2 separate regions of the Homo sapiens genome follow, and region 1 is linked to region 2. The links are contacts of gene promoters, found by promoter capture Hi-C in human tissues and cell types (Jung and others, 2019). All regions are on one chromosome and are shown on one strand. Each heading gives the region's core, a stretch centred on a gene start or on the middle of the fragment in contact. The rest is flanking DNA. Distances are from core to core; before and after follow the strand shown.

Evidence for each region. The method cuts DNA at HindIII sites, captures the fragments that hold promoters and counts their contacts. A contact is called where the count stands out against the background at its distance.
Region 1: a contact is called between a fragment that was not itself captured here and the fragment with the promoter of SCO2 in region 2, in 1 of the 25 tissues and cell types used here (hippocampus).

The regions. Positions count from the first base shown.
Region 1 is chr22:50,353,489-50,356,188 of GRCh38, reverse strand. All of the region lies in intron 1 of PPP6R2 (protein phosphatase 6 regulatory subunit 2), which reads right to left. Among named protein-coding and RNA genes, the nearest start is that of PPP6R2, 12 kb to the right of the region's middle. The HindIII fragment of the contact is 4,805 bases long and covers 1-2,700 here.
Region 2 is chr22:50,524,348-50,527,047 of GRCh38, reverse strand. It overlaps SCO2 (synthesis of cytochrome C oxidase 2), which reads left to right and starts at 1,450. Exons shown (of 2, transcript NM_005138.3): 1 at 1,450-1,576; 2 at 2,624-2,700. The coding sequence starts at 2,637. NCAPH2 (non-SMC condensin II complex subunit H2) reads right to left here. Exons shown (of 20, transcript NM_152299.4): 20 at 2,268-2,700. It overlaps TYMP (thymidine phosphorylase), which reads left to right. Exons shown (of 10, transcript NM_001953.5): 7 at 310-472; 8 at 572-802; 9 at 907-1,047; 10 at 1,130-1,296. The coding sequence ends at 1,278. RefSeq lists enhancers at 1-240, 49-348 and silencers at 439-1,268, 1,479-1,778. The HindIII fragment of the contact is 20,776 bases long and covers 1-2,298 here.

The sequences.
Region 1 (2,700 bases), core at 192-2,691, 170 kb after region 2:
ATCGAGACCATCCTGGCTAACACGGTGAAACCCCGTCTCTACTAAAAAAATAGAAAAAATTAGCCGGGCGTGGTGGCGGGCGCCTGTGGTCCCAGCTACTCTGGAGGCTGAGGCAGGAGAATGGCATGAACCTGGGAGGCGGAGCTTGCAGTGAGCCGAGATCGCGCCACTGCACTCCAGCCTGAGTGACAGAGCGAGACTCCGTCTCAAAAAAAAAAAAAGAGGGAAATACACTATAGGTATTAAAACATCACTATGTACCCCATAAATATATACAATTATGTGTTATGTGTACACTTTTTAAAAGAGAAAAATTTTTAAAAGCTTTTTTTTTGGTTTTTTTTTTTCCATTTTAAAGAATAAGGCTGTGCCAGGCGCAGTGGCTCACCCCTGTAATCCCAGCAATTTGGGAGGCCGAGGCGGGCGGATCATGAGGTAAGGAGATCGAGACCATCCTGGCTAACACAGTGAAACCCCGTCTCTACTAAAAATAGAAAAAAATTAGCTGGGTGTGGTGGCGGGCACCTGTAGTCCCAGGTACTCAGGAGGCTGAGGCAGGAGAATGGCGTGAATCCAGGAGGCGGAGCTTGCAGTGAGCCAAGATCGCACCACTGCACTCCAGCCTGGGCGACAGAGCGAGACTCTATCTCAAAAAAAAAAGGCCGGGCGCAGTGGCTCACGCTTGTAATCCCAGCACTTTGGAAGGCCAAGGCGGGCGGCCGATCACGAGGTTAGGAGATCGAGACCACAGTGAAACCCCTTCTCTACTAAAAATACAAAAAATTAGCCGGGCGTGGTGGCAGGTACCTGCAGTCCCAGCTACTCGGAGAGGCTGAGGCAGGAGAATGGCATGAACCTGGGAGGCGGAGCTTGCAGTGAGCCGAGATCACGCCGCTGCACTCCAGCCTAGGCTACAGAGCGAGACTCTGTCTCAAAAAAGAAAAAAAAAAAAAAAAAAAGAAGGCTGCTTGCTGTATGTGGATATAACAGGATTTCCAATATAGGAGGAGTATCCCTAAACCAAAAATCGTGAAATTGAAATCCTGGGCCAGGCAAAGTGGCTCACGCCTGTAGTCCCAGTACTTTGGGAGGCTGAGGTGGGAGGATCGCTTAAGTCCAGGAGTTCAGGATCAGCCTGGGCAATAGAGCAAGGCCCTGTCTCCACAAAAAATAAAAAATTAGCCAGGCATGGTGGCAGGCACCTGTAGTCTCAGCTACTCAGGAGCCTGGCAGGTCAAGGCTGTGGTGAGCTGTGACTGTGCCACTGCACTCAACCTAGGTGACACAGAATGAGACTGTCTCAAAAAAAAAAAAAAAAAAGGCTGATCCAGGTGCAGCAGCTTTTACAACTAATTGATCACAACCAGTTACAGATTTGTATGTACGTGTACGAGAGAGAGTCTCACTGTCATCCAGGCTGGAGTGCAGTAGCATGATCTCGGTTCACTGCAACCCCTGCCTCAGCCTCCTGAGTAGCTGCGATTACAGGCGCTTGCCACCATGCCCGGCTAATTTTTGTATTTTTAGTACAGACAGGGTTTAACCATGTTGGCCAGCCTGGTCTCAAACTCCGGACCTCAGGTGATCCACCCACCTCAGCCTCCCAAAGTGCTGGGATTACAGGTGTGAGGCGCCGTGCCCACCTACAAATGTTTGTGTTCCTTTTCCACTCCCAGTGCTTCACTTGACTAGCCAAAAAATAAAAATAAAAAAAGCACTCCAATCCAAAACTTGTTGAGCATCTACATGATGCTCAAAGGACATGCTCACTGGAGCATTTCAGATTCCTTATTGGGGAAGCTCAACTGGTAACTCTGAGAAAATTTGAAATCCAAAACATCTCTAGTCCCAGGCATTTTATTTTATTTATTATTTATTTATTTTGAGACAAAGTCTCGCTCCGTCGCCCAGGCTGGAGTGCAGTGGCATGATCTTGGCTCACTACAATCTCCACCTTCTGGGTTCAAGTGATTCTCCTGCCTCAGCCTCCTGAGTAGCTGGAATTACAGCCACGTGCCACCATGCCCGGCTAATTTTTGTATTTTTAGTAGAGACAGGGTTTCACCATGTTGGCCACGGTGGTCTCAAACTCCGGACCCCAGGTGATCCGCCCACCTCGGCCTCCAAAAGTGCTGAGATTACAGGCATGAGCCACCGCGCCCGGCCTCCCAGTCAGCTTTTCTAAATAAAATTGTATTGGAACATAAACAAGAACACACAAATGCCTGATACATAATCAGTTATCGTTACAATTCCAAAATGTATTCTTTTAATTTTCTTTGTTCTTCCTCTATTCTTCTAGGGAATCTATTAAAATTTTTTAAAAATATTTTTAAAAGTTAGCCTTTCCCTTAACAAAAAAAAAAAAAAAGGGAGAGGCTTTTGAGTCACACTACCTGGGGTACAAATCTTGCCTCTATCATCTACTTGCTGTTTATTTCCATTTCCTCATCTGTGAAATGGAAAACAACACAGGCGTACTTTGTCTAACGTGCTTCCCTTCATTGTGCTTCGCAGGTAATGTGCTTTCTACAAATTAAAGGCTGGTAGCAACCTTGCGTCAAGCACGTCGAGGGGTGCCATTTTTCCAACAGCATGTGCTTACTTCGTGTCTCTGTGTTGCATTCTGGTAATTCTCACAATATTTCAAACTCTTTCATTATTATTTTATCTGTTATGGTGACCTGTTATCGGTGATGT
Region 2 (2,700 bases), core at 201-2,700:
CCTCTTCTGCCCGAAGTCCCTCCCTCCTTCACGGCTTCCTAACCTGCTGTGACTTTAGAGGTCAAGGCTGGCCCGGCCTGGACCTGGGGAAGCCCTCTGTGGCGTTCCTGCCCCAGACCAAGTACAAGTTCCTCCTGGCCCCATGGCGAGGTGTCGCACTTCACTCGTGTCTCTTCCCCACCCCAATCCTTCCCTGACTTCATGCTGGGGGGCTGGCAACCCAGGGTGCAGCAGGGGCTGGAGTTCGACCAAGAACCGGCTGCAGAAGGCCCCGCCATGGGGGGTCCACGCTGAGCCTCCTCTCCGCAGGTTGGCGTGGGAGCCAGCCTAGGGCTTCGGGTCGCGGCAGCGCTGACCGCCATGGACAAGCCCCTGGGTCGCTGCGTGGGCCACGCCCTGGAGGTGGAGGAGGCGCTGCTCTGCATGGACGGCGCAGGCCCGCCAGACTTAAGGGACCTGGTCACCACGCTCGGTGAGGGGGACGGGGTGTAGGGGAGCGGAGGCGGCGGGGGGTGCTTCCCGCTGGGGCCGCCCCGACCCGGCCGCGCCTAAGACCCGTCCCCGCCCGCAGGGGGCGCCCTGCTCTGGCTCAGCGGACACGCGGGGACTCAGGCCCAGGGCGCTGCCCGGGTGGCCGCGGCGCTGGACGACGGCTCGGCCCTTGGCCGCTTCGAGCGGATGCTGGCGGCGCAGGGCGTGGATCCCGGTCTGGCCCGAGCCCTGTGCTCGGGAAGTCCCGCAGAACGCCGGCAGCTGCTGCCTCGCGCCCGGGAGCAGGAGGAGCTGCTGGCGCCCGCAGATGGTGAGCGTCGGGGGAGTCCCCGTCCTTCCGCCTCCGCCATCCCCTTCCCTTCCCGAGGCCCCGCCCCTTCCCGAGCCCGCGCCTCTCAGCCCCTCTCCCCGCAGGCACCGTGGAGCTGGTCCGGGCGCTGCCGCTGGCGCTGGTGCTGCACGAGCTCGGGGCCGGGCGCAGCCGCGCTGGGGAGCCGCTCCGCCTGGGGGTGGGCGCAGAGCTGCTGGTCGACGTGGGTCAGAGGCTGCGCCGTGGTGAGCGCCGCCCCCGCCCTGCTGGCCCCGCACCCCCGCCCAGCTCCGGCCGCGCGGCCTCTAACAGCCCCTCGCTCTGCAGGGACCCCCTGGCTCCGCGTGCACCGGGACGGCCCCGCGCTCAGCGGCCCGCAGAGCCGCGCCCTGCAGGAGGCGCTCGTACTCTCCGACCGCGCGCCATTCGCCGCCCCCTCGCCCTTCGCAGAGCTCGTTCTGCCGCCGCAGCAATAAAGCTCCTTTGCCGCGAAACCTTGTCAGTGCTTGGGCGGGAGCGGAAGGATCCAGGGCTGCGGAGGCGGGGGCCGTCTCGATGAACACGTGACCCCCGGCGGGCTCCGCCTTCCGCGCACGCGCTGAGAGCCTGTCAGCGGCTGCGCCCGTGTGCGCATGCGCAGCTCCGGGGACGCCTGCGCCCTGCCTGTGAGCGTGTGGCGCCCGCTTTCCCTGAGCCGGCGGGGCAGAGCGCAGGGAGCTGGAGGTCGGCGCTTCCTCTCGTGCTTGGTCCACTGACGCGCGGCCCCGCCGCGAGGTGCGGACGCCGGGGCTGGGAGGGGAGGAGGTAGCCCTGAGGACTCGCTGGACTCCGGGGTAGTTTCCCAGCTCCGGCTACTGCGCGGGGCTGGCGGGGCACACCCCAGGGCGCGCTGGAGGCCGGAGCGAGGCTGGGGCGCCCGTGGGAGGCTCCCAGCAGGCACCGGTGTTCTCGCGGCCAAGCACAGTTATAACGCGCTCGCGCGGCGCTTCGAGTGGTCCTGGAACCTTTCTGGCCACGAGGGCGCTGGCCTTGCTGGGGAGGGCACAAACCCAGAACCGCCCGGGCGGGGGTGCAGTGAGTCCTCGGGAGGGTGCCCTCAGCAGGAGGGGGCAGTGACCGGGAGTCCTGAGACCTCCACCTAGCAAACCTTCTGCGGGGGCCCGTGGGAAAGGCTCAAAGGTCACCAACGCAAAGGCAGGGCGTCGGCTGTGAGCCCGGAGGAGCTGCTGGGAAGCCTGGATGTGAGGAGGGTGGGGTTTTGTGGCGGGTGGAAGTGTCGTGCGTCTCTGCCAGGAGAGGTTAAACACAGCCGGCGGGCAGAGTCTGAGCTCCGGGGGTAGGTCGTGCAGGTTTTCTGCTGGGAGTGTGGAGGAAGGCCGCGGTTGGTTGAAGTGGCTGGAGGTAACAGGAAAGTGTTGGAGGAATCGGTTGCTCTCGGGGATTGCAAGCCAGAGAGTTACCCACCTCCTTTTAAGAAATGGGTTTATTGCAAATAGATAACGTGGTTAGTTCAGGCAAGGCATGCACTTGGAATGCTTTCCGTCAGCAAGAGGTTCACCTTGCTGAGGTGCAGGTGCAGGGCAGGGTGCGGTGACAGGCTGGTGATCCCAGGTAGAGGACAGGAGTGACAGGTGTGGTTGCCCAGGTGTGGATGTTTGGTGGAGGTGGAGTTCTGAGCTCAGGTGAGCAGCTGCAAATGCCTGTTAAGCCTGAACGTGGGCTGGGTCCTTCAGATGGGTGGCTGGTCTCAAGTCGCAGGGGCAGCCCAGGCACTGTCCTGGGCCTTCCCTTCTGGCTCCTGACGCCTGTGCTTGTTTCCAGGAGCATCAGATCCATGCTGCTGCTGACTCGGAGCCCCACAGCTTGGCACAGGCTCTCTCAGCTCAAGCCTCGGGTCC